2 separate regions of the Homo sapiens genome follow, and region 2 is linked to region 1. Evidence: promoter capture Hi-C in 16 types of primary human blood cells and fetal thymus (Javierre and others, 2016). All regions are on one chromosome and are shown on one strand. Each heading gives the region's core, a stretch centred on a gene start or on the middle of the fragment in contact. The rest is flanking DNA. Distances are from core to core; before and after follow the strand shown.

The links. Contacts are between HindIII fragments. The CHiCAGO score rates a contact against its expected background, and 5 or more counts as called.
Region 2: a fragment that was not itself captured here is called in contact with the fragment with the promoter of MAP2K4 in region 1 in 1 of 17 cell types (fetal thymus); the score reaches 5.8 in fetal thymus.

The regions. Positions count from the first base shown.
Region 1 is chr17:12,017,589-12,024,002 of GRCh38, reverse strand. MAP2K4 (mitogen-activated protein kinase kinase 4) reads right to left here and starts at 3,126. Exons shown (of 11, transcript NM_003010.4): 1 at 3,002-3,126. The coding sequence starts at 3,116. It also overlaps a transcript of ZNF18 not described here. RefSeq lists a silencer at 2,410-3,289 and an enhancer at 2,826-3,326. The HindIII fragment of the contact is 6,257 bases long and covers 1,471-6,414 here.
Region 2 is chr17:21,209,164-21,215,577 of GRCh38, reverse strand. TMEM11 (transmembrane protein 11) reads left to right here and starts at 1,417. Exons shown (of 2, transcript NM_003876.3): 1 at 1,417-1,487. The coding sequence starts at 1,426. TMEM11-DT (TMEM11 divergent transcript) reads right to left here and starts at 1,253. Exons shown (of 2, transcript NR_184102.1): 1 at 1,128-1,253. RefSeq lists enhancers at 436-645, 1,416-1,515 and silencers at 806-1,075, 1,196-1,335. The HindIII fragment of the contact is 571 bases long and covers 2,357-2,927 here.

The sequences.
Region 1 (6,414 bases), core at 1,877-4,376:
ACTCATTTACCAATAGTAAAAGGGACCATTAATGAGACCATAACAATATTGTCGCTACTAACAATGATGGCTAATGTGTATTGCATCCTTACTACATGTCAGGTCCCAGGCTTACATGCATTCTCAAAGCCACCGGGGAGGTAAGCGTTATTCCCACTTTCCAAGTGAGAAACTGAGGCTTCGAAAGGCCAAGTTCATTGCCCCTGGTCACAAAACGCATATCTGAATCCTGGCCAAGAGATTCAAACCCAGAACTCCAGAGCTCTGGTTCTTAAGCAGTATATTAAGAAAGCAATATTGGCCAGCCTGGACCACTCTTGGGCCATAAACATGAAGCCATGAAAAAGTATTCAAGGTTATCCAGTGCCCACCACAGTGCTTACCACATAAGAGGATGTCCAATGTCTACTGCATGAAACATTCCTTATGTTCCACAACTGAATCCTGCTGTTTCAGAGAGCATGGTCATTAACAACTCCCAGAAAGGAAGTTTTTTGAGTGGCAAGTATAATTAGATTGGGGGAGAAGGAATGGAAGTACATCAAACATCTTCTAAGGCCCACTCTGTGAAGTCTGATCTAAAGCAAAAGAAGACCCTTGGCAGATGAAGTACAGTATGGGAGGTGTGACTCCCATACAATTGGATGGGAATCTTTCTTTTTGGGTTCTTATAAGATTTCCTCTTCAAGGGCCTCACAATTAAGATACAGAACAAAACAAACCAAAAAGAAGGATCCTAAATTGCTGCTTAAGTTCAAGCTTTATAACAGACTGTTCTAGACAACATCCTGAGAATATCAAGCACTTCATTCTGACTAATGAAAAAAGTTTCAAGAACAAGATATAACACATTCCTGAATCAATCAAGACTAGACACAATATTGATAAAAAAGAAAATTCGGCAATAATTCATAGAGAGGTCTTAGGTCCTTTTTCCTTCTAAAATGGGTTCTGCTTATTAGAAAGTTTAGTTAACTGGGTATCAACATACAAGGGCTGAGGAGAACGGACAGCATCAGAAAAAGTCCTAACCACTGCCTTAGGAGTTCCTAGAACACTCCAAGCTCTTCCCTGCTTTGGAACCTTCATACACACAGTTCCTCTGCCTAGAACCGTCTTCAGGTAAAAGAGGGTTAGCTTTCCAGACAAGCCTTCTCTGACCATCTTATCAAGCGGACTGCCCTCTATTATCTTCTATCACAAAACCCAGCTTGTTACCTTTATTACTTTTCCAACTAGTAATTTTTCATGTTTAGCTAAATAGCCTTCCCTCCCCCATCTTCACAGGGGGATAACCTCCATGAGGACAGTTAGAGATGTTCAATTCTCTATAAACTCAGCATGAGCGTTTTATGCAGATGCTCAATAAATATTTTTTGAACCAAAAAAACACACTGTATCCAGCTATTTCAAACTGTCAGCCTCCCCACCAATAAAACAAACAAACAAATCACCTTGTTTTTATAAGCTTTGTAAGTCACCCATCTGGAACAAGAAATACAATCCTAAATTGTCATTTTGCCATTTCATTTCGCCCCAACCACCACCACCTAAATTGTAAAGCTGTACAGTCAGGAAGTCAATCTTATACTTCATCAGTATAATGTGCTGTGCAACACAGTGGGCATCCAATAACTAATTCAATTTGAATGAATTATCTGAGGGCCTGCACAGAAAGTGTCCTCTAAGCTCTGACATCATCCTGTCTATATATCTATCACTGGTTTTTATGTATATTAAAATTATTTCATGGGGAGGGTGACAGGGATGTAAAGATAAATAAAATCCTGTCTCTTCTTTCTGAATTATGGCATGCTCTATAAACATGAACTATTCAATAAATGTCTGTTGAACCTAACTAAATGCTAGAAGCCCTTTAAGAGGAATGGAATCAAAAAGTAACCATGGTCACACTGACTACCAAGGGTACCCCAACCCTTATTCTGTTAATAATTCAACACAAGCAGTTTGCTAAAGTTGTCAAGAGAGTTCTGAGATTCCCTGTTTTAAAAATAGCATTACTACTCAAAATTCCCCAGTAAATTTAAGGAAATGGTCCCTAACAGGCTCGGGCCTGGCCTGGTATTTTCACAACACCCCCTGTCAAAAGCCATACACAGCTAATAAGCATTCCCAGTGGGGAAAGTCATTAATTAGCAGAGCTGCCTCAAATGTCCAGACACTACAGTATCACTTTGACCCCTGTCTATTTCCTGTATCTCTCCATTTAAACCAAATTAAGTCTTCTTTTTTTTTTTTTTTTTTTTTCTTCCTGCACGCAATGCTAACACAGAAATCCCTGGCCTGGAACAAAATGCCTCTCCCAGGCCAATGCAGCCTACCTACCTTACAGGTGGCACAGGCCTGGGCAACCCGCCCCCCACCCCCATCCCTTCCAGCGCACAGAAACCCTGCAAAAGTTTGAAAACGCAGGTTCCAAGAGGCCCCCGTAGCCCGAGGTCAGCTCGGTGGTCCGGCTCCAGCTGTGCCCGGCGACAGCCAAGATGGCCCTGAGCGGGGCCCACTGCGGCGGCGGGGCCGAGGGGCGCCGGCCGGGGCCGCTGTCTTCGCCGCCTACCTGAGCGGCGTCAGGGACCAGGGGGCAGGCCCGACGCCCCTCCCGCTCCGCCGCAGCCCCGAGCCGGCGCGTTCCCGGAAACGGGGGCCGGGCGGGCGCCAGGTAAGCGGCGGGGGCGATGGGGACGGCCGCGGGGGCGGTCCCGGACCAGGTGGGCCCTGCGGGCCTGCTGAGAGCCCGGTAGGGCCCAGGGGCCAAGCGCAGGCAGAGGCCGCGGCCGGGGCCTATGCGGGCCGGAGCCCGGATCCAAGCCGGGCCGGAGGCGGCCGGGAGCGGGGCGGGAAGCCGGGGAGGGAGAGAGGGAGAAGCCGGCGGCTGCCGTGGCTTCCTCAGCCGGGTCCGGGGGCGTCCGCTGGGGCAGGCCGCGACGACGCGGGTTGCCGCGCTAGGGGGCTGGGATCTCGGCGCGGCCGCGTTCCTTACCCTGCATGCTGCTGACGGCCGGGTGGCCTGGCGCCGGGGACCCTACGGGGCCGGGGGTGCCGCTGCCGCTGCCGCCCCCGGAGCCGCCGCCGCCGCTCGGGCTCGGAGCCGCCATTGTTGGGAGTGAAGAGCCGAGCGGCGCCGCGGCGGCTGCAATGCAGCAAGCTCGGCCTCTCGCACGGCCGAGGGGCGAGGCTTACCCCCGCCTTGGCCCCGCCTCCGACACGCCCCGGACACGCCTCCTGACACGCCCCCGCCAGAGCCCGACGCGCAGCCCGGGCCAGATGCTGAGCTGCAGAACCGCCCGGCTCTGGGTGCGCGACCTGTGAAGCAGACAGCTGTCTTGGACCAGGGCTGCGGGCCCGCGGGGCCTAAAGTGGTTTGCAGAATTAAAGGTGGGCCTGCATTTGTGCGGAAAGAAGGTACGCAGCTTTCATCATTCCCATGGAGGTCTGTGACTCCCAAAAGTCCACTTTGTTGGAATCTCAGAACCCCAAATCAGAATAGTAAAGCTGAAAAGGATCCCAGGGATCCCTTTCTCCTCCAGTCGCTAACACATCACTTCCAGAAGGGAGTTACCTAGAGCTATGGTTACAGTCTGGAACTCCTCTTAAGCCCAATACCCCAACCCTCTACACTTCTCTGAGGGGAAAGGGGAGTCCCAAGGGGAACTAACCAAAGTGCTGTCCATGGACCCATCCCAAAACTACTGAATTAGAGGTTACATTTTAATAATACCACCAGGTAATTTGTATGCCCATTAAATTTGAGAAGCATATATTTAAGCACTCGACACTTCCCAGCCTCCTGAAATATGCTATCTACATCACCATCTTCCCCTAAATGCACACTGGATTCCCTCTCCCAAATCCTTTACATCTTGTATAAGACGAGCCGTAGTCATTATTGTAAGTTACATAAAATGACAACCCCAAAAAACAATATGAGGTTTCTTCCATTGCTTTGCACAGAGACTTTTATTTTAGGAAGACAGTAGCTAAAAGAAGAAAAAGTTCTCTATGAGGCTACGATTTGTAAGCCAACCATAATGTACTCGAAATGGTAAGACATGGGTTTCTGGCCAGGCAGCCTTGCCTAAAATGGAATAGCCAGTTATCCTACTTCCCAAAGAATCTAAGCCATGGAGCTGGACATTTTCTCCCATTTAGAAGCATTGTGTGATCTACAGCTAGACTTCTTTCCCAAAACTTCTTCCACCCAGATGTTATTTGATGCTGAGAGTTCTTCACAGCATGTTGGAAATGTGTCCTGGGTCAAAATAGCCCTGCCTTCTTGTTCCAAACCCAATTTCATCCATCATCTTGATGGCTCAGATCCTAAAAGTGGCTAGCCGTAAACATCAAGTGGAGAGGCATTAAAGGCAAATTGAAGGTGAGAGCAGGTAGGTGTACTTCAGTGGAGAGCCCGCCAGAATTCTCCTCCATGGGCCTCGTTGGCTGCCCAATATCTTCAAGTCCAGGTCTTATAAACATGGCCAGATTCCCATCTGGAAATCAGTAGCCCACCCAGCTCTTGTTGCTCCTAGGGCATCTTAATTATGAGCCATCATAACTGGCCTTTAATAAGAATTTAATATATATTCTTTTAATAGAAATCCTAGAAGCAGCACTACAGATTAGGCAACTACTAGAAAATTAATTTAAACACACACACACACACACACACACACACACACACACACACACATCCAATATTATAAATAACATATATTAAAGAAGGCTGGGGATGTTGGCTCACACCTGTAATCCCAGCACTTTGGGAGGCCAAGGCGGGTGGATTACGTGAGGTCAGGAGTTAGTGACCAGCCTGGCCAACGTGGTGAAACCCTGTCTCTACTAAAAATACAGAAAAAAACAAAAATTAGCCGGTGTGGTGGCAGGTACCTATAATCCCAGCTACTAGGGAGGCTGAGGCAGGAGAATCGCTTGAACCTGGGAGGCAGAGGTTGCAGTGAGCCGAGATTGTGCCACTGCACTCCAGCCTGGGTGACAGAGCAAGACTCCATCTATTAAAAAAAATATGTATATATATAGTTATATTTATATATATATAGGAAAACCTTCAACCTAGCAAATTCATTAAGGGAAATTGGGAAACTGAATTAAAAGAGAAATACAATAAAAATATAACTAATCTTATTTTTAAGAATACCTAATTCTGAGTTTGTGATAAAACTGACATATACTTGCATTGCTGTTGGTATTGTAAACTAGTAAGAGCCAATAATTAGATGTGCATATGGCAAAAACAAGAAAGCACTTTGATTTGTTCCAACTGAGGAAGCTATGTATGAGCTTTTTAACTTTTTCTTATGCTCACATTTCTCTTACATATTTGTGTTTTATGATTTCTTATGGACTAAATTGTATTCTGCTCCCTCACCAAATTTACATGTTGGAGTCCTAACCCCCAGCATCTCAGAATGGGACTATATTTGGAAATAGGGTCTTTAAAGTAAAATGAGGTCATACGAGTGGGCCCTAATCCAATAGGACTGGTGTCTTTATAAAGAGATTAGGATGCAGACACACAGAGCTAGGAGAAGATGATCATCTACAAGCCACAGAGTGTGTCCTCAAAAGACACCAACTCTGCCTACACCTTGGACTTCCAGCCTCCATAACTGTGAGAAAATACATTTATGTTGTTTATTGGTTCTTTTGCTATGACATCCCTTAGCAAACTAATACACAGTTCAGAAAAATGAATTGCTTAAAAAAAGTTAACCTTTTTAGTAATAATGGTGGTAGCTGGCATAATCACTGGGGAGACGGGAAGGCAATTAAGCAATACATATGAATAACCAGCAAATTTACATTTATAAGATATCCTTGAGGAAATCCCCAAATGGGCCTGAAACTCCTGGCTCTGCCATGTAGTGATTTTATCTTCCCACTAGAGTAGATGAAAATAACAAATTAAGATGATTTCTAAGAGGAATGTATGGCAATATCAAAGTCCCCCATCCTGAAAGAGGCTGCAGAGAAAGAGTAACGTCTGTGTATTCCTTGCTTAGAGAACCTTTGTTGAGAAATCTAGCTTGCTTGTTTTTTATGATACATATGTCAATGGTTAGACTAAAAATACATTTTTTTTTTTTTTTGAGATGGTGTTTCGCTCTTGTTGCCCAGGCTGGAGTGCAATGGCGCGATCTCGGCTCACTGCAACCTCCGCTTCCTGGGCACAAGTGATTCTCCTGCCTCAGCCTCCCGAGTAGCTGGGATTACAGGCATGTGCCACCACACCTGGTTAATTTTTTACTTTTAGTAGAGACGGGGTTTCACCATATTGTTCAGGCTGGTCTCGAACTCCCGACCTTAGGTGATCTGCCTGCCTCAGCCTCCCAAAATGCTGGGATTACAAGGGTGAGCCACTGCACCCAGCCTCAAGAA
Region 2 (6,414 bases), core at 1,393-3,892, 9.2 Mb before region 1:
GGAAAGGTAGGCAGTTGAATTTGGAGAGCTAGGCAACTTCCAAACTAAGGAGGGGCTTCTTGATTGTGCTAAGGAATTTGAATCACACACTGTAGGTGATGAGGGACGGTGAGAGGATTGCAAGCAGCTAAAACTGTGGTAGAATGTCAGCTGGAAGGAAATCGAAAGGAATCCTCAACAAGGAGAGGGTCGCCTTTCCGTCTGCTGGCCCTCCTGCTGTGGCCTGCGGCGGGGTGGGAAGGGGGGTTCCACTACACAGAAGTGTGACGCGCAGGGCTGGGCTTCTTCTAGGCTGAATTCGGGACAGATTTTCGCATTTGTTTTGCTCAAGTATTTATGGGACCAATTAATATGTTTAGCAACGTTGTCTGTGGGAGCAGTAGAGGAACTGAGAAGTTCACAAACTGTAAGAGATCCTCCAAAGAGTCCACAGGTCTGAGGCAGCAGCACCTGGGAATCTCTGGGCTCCAGTTAGTCCTTCCTGACTTTGACTCGTTACAGCAGTGTCCAGACAGGGATATGTCGGGTCCTGTGGCAGGGTTCCCGTCAGGTGGGATGGTTTAGCCCCGCATCTGCCTTCAAAGATCCCGAGATTATGCCGTCGCAGCGGCCAGGGCAGGAGTGGGTGCGTGGCAGGGACTGAGTCTAAGAGGCCTGGAGGCCCTGTCTAAAACAGAGCTGTCGCTGGGCCCTCTCGCCTTCAAGCAGTTATCATACAGCTATTCCCCTTTCTTGTTTTCAGACCCTCTCCTCTAACAGCCTGCACCTGCAAGCAGGGACCTCCGTGGCAGCAGGGACAGCGTGTCTGTCTCGGCCTCCAAAGTACCCCGGAGTCTAAGAGAACTGGGGGAGGATGGTGCGGGAGCAGCGCCCGCCTCCAAGGAGGGCCCGGGCGGCGCCTCCCGCCCCTCGGTGACCTTATGGGCCAAGGCTGTGAAGGGCAGGCGTGGCGACGCGGAGGGGCCCGGCGCTAGTAGCCCGCAGACAGCGCGGCGGCCCCCAGCGGGAGAGGCAGCCTGGCGGCCAGGACAGCGCGGCCGGGCGCCTCCGCGCAGTGCTCTGGGAGTTGTAGGCACTTGCCTCTCCTCTCTCCTTCAGCTACTGGCTCTCGAAACTCAAGGACCTACCGGTGGGTGGGCGCCTGTGACTCCCAGGCTGCGAACGCCGGGAACTCAGTTTCTTCAGAAATGCTCGAACCAGGACGGCTCCTGGAGTCCTCGCGCCCTCGCAGAAGGACTACGGGCCCCGGCGACCCCGGGGGCGGGGCTTCCGGCGCGCTGCCTTGTGGGCACGGTAGTTCCGCCGGGTCTGGCTTCCGCCTGCCGAGCGGCCCCGGACCGCAGGCCGGACTACACTTCCCGTCGGCCCGCCTGCTCTCCCGATGCCGCCTTGGCGCGAGACGTTGGCAAGCAGAGTGTCTCCAAGATGGCCGCTTGGGGAAGGAGGCGTCTTGGCCCGGGCAGCAGTGGCGGCAGCGCCCGAGAGAGGTGAGATCCAAGGGCTTGTTGCCCCCAGTGCAGGCGGCTCAGCGGCCGGAGAGCCCAGCGCGGCCTCCGAGGGCTGCAGCAGCCTTCCTTCCCTGGTTTCCCCGCGCTCCCCCTACCCTCGCCGGGCATACTGGGTTCCAGTTCCGGAGGATCCGGGATCCGGGTGGGAGCGAGGTCGAAGGCCTCGGCGGAGAGCTTAGGGGAAGGGGCGTTAGCCGGGCTGAGTAAGGTAGGCAGCGGCCATGCGGGGCGGGGCCCGAGGCCGGGCCGTGCTGAAAGGAACTGGCGCCCAGCGCAGGCCTCAGGGACCCGCCTAGCTGCCCGCGGGCCGATCGGCTGCTGAAGCACCCTTCCCGCCTGGGCACGCGCGTGGCCATCTCGGCCGCGGCCCCAGACGTGTAGAGGAAGGCAGGGCCCCCGGAGAGAGAAAGAAGGGGAAGCCTTCACAGAGCAGGCCGGCCGCGGCAGGGGTAGTTTGATCTGCACGTTTACTAGGGAGCTTTAGCTCCCGCCAGATGTGTCTCTTCCGAGCCCAGAGCCGGCCACTTCCTCGAGGGAAGATTCTGAAGACTTTTGGATGGTTCTGTGCAAGCGCTCCTGCCGTAGAAGTCCTTTAAAGTGACCTTTCCTAATGAATGGTGTGTGGGCAGGGAGCTAGGAGCGTGTTTCTTCCAACAGGGACCTCCATTTGAATAACTGATTTCTAGAAGATGAGATTGGAGTAGTTTCCGTGTTTCATGTTCAAGTTGCAGTTTTTGCATCTGGGAAGCAGTTTCAGCTAGTGGAAACCACTAGAAGCTGTTCAGCCACTAGAAATTTGGGAGAAGATGTATTGGTGGAGCCACCTGGATTAACTGTCCGCTAAAGCTTGATTGTTATAGCAGCGGTCAGCAAAAAAGGAAAAGTTTTTGTTTTGCTGGTTCTCCCCCTCCCCGTCTTTTTGGTGAGGATTGTCTAACAGAAAAGTTATCTTCCTCTCAACTACTCTGCATTATTCCTTTTCTGTGACTGATTCCATCCCGTGTTCATTGCTATTGCTTGCAGATGGCTTTCCCAGCTGGGAAGATTCTTCCTGTTTGGCAGTTGTGATAGAATCCTTTAGCTTGCTTGCACTTTATTCTTTAGCCCAGTTATCCAGCGTTGCCCATTCTGCATTTCCTCTTCCTTGGAAAAGCAGTGGTAAACACACTTTTGTTTTTCTAACTCCCGCCTGGTATTAGATTGGACCATTTAAATAAGTTACCTCAATGGTTTTCAGATGCTCTTAAAAACTAGCAAACATTTTCAAGATATTCAATGCAAACAGTAATACGAAATAACCTGTTTAGAAAACAAAGTATTAGAAACATACGCCCTCTTGTTGGACTAAAAGCATCTGAAAAGAGCCGAATAGGGATGCCTCAGGCAGGGAACAGGAGCCTTGCCAGCACAGGTTAAGCTTTTATTGATCTAAGAAAATAGATGCTGAGAATTGTTTTTGTTTTGGCTTGAGACAACTGTTTATTCAAAATGGATCTGCAAATTAGCAGTGCATAGGCTGGATCCAGTCCTTGACTGTTGAACCTCAACAGTTTTTAAGAGAATTTAAATTAGTTGCCAGCAGATTTCATATAAAACGCTCCCTGAAAAGCTGGGTAGTGGCTGACTCTTTTTGGTCGGGACAAGTGCTTGGTTCCAGTTCTTGGTTCCTCACCTGACAGCTTGACTCAAATCACCTGACAGCTTGACTCAAATCACCTGTCAGCTTGACTCAATGCATTTGCCTGCTTGGTCTCTGTAGGTGTTCAGGTTGCACCTTTGGCCTGGAACTGAAGGCTCTACTCACACACGCAGATGTTGTGTGTCAGCAGGAATGTGGCATTTGGTTTTGTAGTTTGGATGTCACCATCTACTCTCCTAGATAACGTGGTATGGGTGGAGACTACCTGTCTGTTTGCTCTTGCTGTAAACCCCTAGCCAGGTTCTGTTGGAAGAGTCATTTCCCCGAGCCCAGCTTCCCTAAGCTCTTCCCATGCTGAGCAGGGGATGGAAACATAACCCGCTGTGGGGCTAGCGAGCTGACTTCTGGGCATCCCTCCATTCCTGCTCAGTTGGTGATGACTGTTCAGGTGGGGCAGGGCGGATTAGCTGATGGCCCAGCACTCTAGATTATGAGATCTGAGTGTATTATTGGCTCTTATGACTGAAGTAGGCTGTTTATGGCTCTCTAAAATGACTTTGTTCCATGTCACATTCGTGCTGACTCAAATCTCAGCTCCATGTTATACGAGTGCTCTCTCCCGTTGCTGCTCACACCTGGTTAGCATCTGCTTTTGCTGAAGCTGAGGGAAACATTATCTGGTTTGGGGAAGGGGCTAGAACAGAGTGACACTTTGGGCACACTTGCCAGATTTGCCAGCGGCTACCAACTCTGAAGCATGCATTGTACTTAAAGGTCCCACCCAGTGCCAGACTGCCTGCAGTATTACTGCCGGCGCTGTGTGTTGGATGGTCCAGTTTAGCACGTGTAGCGTGTGGGTTCTTGCTTTACCTTGTTGAGTCTAGAACCACAGCTCTAGAATTAGTGCTGAATTAACACAGCAGTTCAGTAGTCACCAGCTACATGTGGCAATTACATTTAAATTCATTAAAATTAAGTAAAATGAAGAATTCAGCTCCTCAGTCTCACTAGCCACATTTCAAGTGCTCAATAGCCACTTCCGGCCTGTGGCTACCATATTGGACAGCATAGGTGGAGGACATTTCCATCACTGCAGAAAGTTATGATATGGACAGTGCTGGTTTCGACTAAGATAGGAGGGGTGGAAATAGCAAAATGGTAGTGCTTGCATGTTGATTTTTCTCTCCACTCCATTAAATCTAGGGAACCAACAGTGTTTGTAATGAAGAACATCAGACTCTGAGCTGTAACCTGAATTCTTGTCCAAAATTCAGCACACTGGCAACGAGCACATCAAACAGATTGCCACTTGTCCTGTCGGCGTCTTTGAGACACACTTGCCCATCTAGGAAAGCACAGTGCAGGTATCTGTGTTCTGCCACCGTGTGCCAGCCCGGACCAGCTCACAGACAGCCCTGCCTGTCTTACTTGGGCTGCTCGGCTTCACTGTCTCAGGGCCCCTGAACCTCCCAGAGCCCTCCGTGATTGTTGGAATGTGAGTATAGCTGTGTGCTCTTGAGTTCCTGTTTTTATAATCACGTGAAGATGTACTTGATCTGCTTCTGAGCATGATATGAGGCAACCTGGGGTGTGCAGAGGGCCAGATGCACGGGGCTAAAAGTTCAGGTTTAGCGCGAAGTTATTTGTTGTGGCCTGCCCCTCCCCTGGCTTGCGCGGCCATCTGCTCCAGCGTTTTATAGGCAGCCAGTTCCCTGGGCTGACTTTCATGGCTTTCCTTGCCATGCTTTATTCCCCAGGACCTGTCCTCTTCTTTGTGAACTCAGGTGTGCCTGGTCCCAGGTGGCCCTTACACGTTCATCCAGTGAGCAGATGGAGCACAGGCCCCGGGGGCAGGTTGGGTCATGGTCCCGGGGTGACAGCTTCCCTTTCTGATCTGATCCTTCCCTTTTAGACTCTCAGGCTTTGGGAGTATTTAATCTCTCTTGAAAGACTCCATGCTTGCTTTTGTGTGTGGCGGGAGTTTTTGTTTCCTTCTGGCTGGGATGAGATGAGCAGATACGGGATCTGCACCCAAGTGTGTGGGGGTTTAGCCACTGGTTGTGGGATTCTGCTCAGCTCTTTAACAAAGGCAAAGCCACATGTTCTGGCCGCAGAAGTTGGATTCGTAGGTAAGGATGGGGTTCATCCTCTTCAGTATTGATGTGCCTTCAAGTTTTCAAGAATTTCTGTTTTCCTTGGTTCACTCAAGCAGCCTGGATTCCAAGTGCATTAATTTGTGTCTCAGTGGTTCAGTCCTTTAGGTCATGTTCCAGGGAAGGCTCCCCTTTCTGAAGAGGGGAGGGCTGCGCCTGGGTCCACGGAGGTGGGGAGGTGGCTCCTCTGCCCCGGCTTGTCGGTGTGCACCTGTTCTTCAATGAGCGAGGTGCGGGGGGTGGAGTTGGGCAGCACTCCATGACCGAGCACACCCGGGAACCTCCTGACTGCCACGGTGTTCCGCCCTGGTGCCAGCAGCCACTTTATGGGCACAGTTCTCAGGAAAAGCTGACAGCCATGTAGTAGTCATAACAGTTCTTCAGAGCAGGGCTGTCCAGTAGGAGTTTCTGGCATGACAGACTCCTGGCGTGTCCCTGCAGTCCATTAGGGCAGCCATTAGCCACGTGTGGCTCTGAGGAACTGAGGTTTCATTTATTTATTTATTTTATGAGACAGGTCTGGCTCTGTCACCCAGGCTGGAGTGCAGTGGTATGATCTCGGATCTCTGCAACCTCCGTCTCCCTGGCTCAAACCATTCTCCCACCCCAGCCTCCCGAGTAGCTGGGACCACAGGCATGTACCACCACGCCCAGCTCATTTTTGTATTTTTTGTAGAGGCAGAGTTTTCACCATGTTGTCTAGGCTGGTCTTAAAATTTGTGGGCTCAAGGAATCCACCCGCCCTGGCCTCCCAAAGTGCTGGGATTACAGGCGTGAGCCACTGTGCCCGGCCAGGAACTGAATTTTTTAAGATGTCTAATTTTAATTAATTTAAATTTCAACAGCCACATGTGTCTTAGGCAGAGGGGCAGTGCTTGGCGACTGTTCCCATCTTCACTGCAGTCCTCTGGGAGAGCCAGGGCCTCTGGCCCCGTTTGACAACATGGGAAACTGGCTCAGAGGGGCCGGGTGTTTTGCCCTAGGACACAAAGCCAGTAGGCAGCCGAGAGGGAACTTGAATCCACCCTCTCGACTCCCACACTTGGTGCGCCGTGTTCCTGCTCCCCAGATAGAAGGGCTGCTGAGTTACCAGTGCGCAGAATAGGAAAGTGTC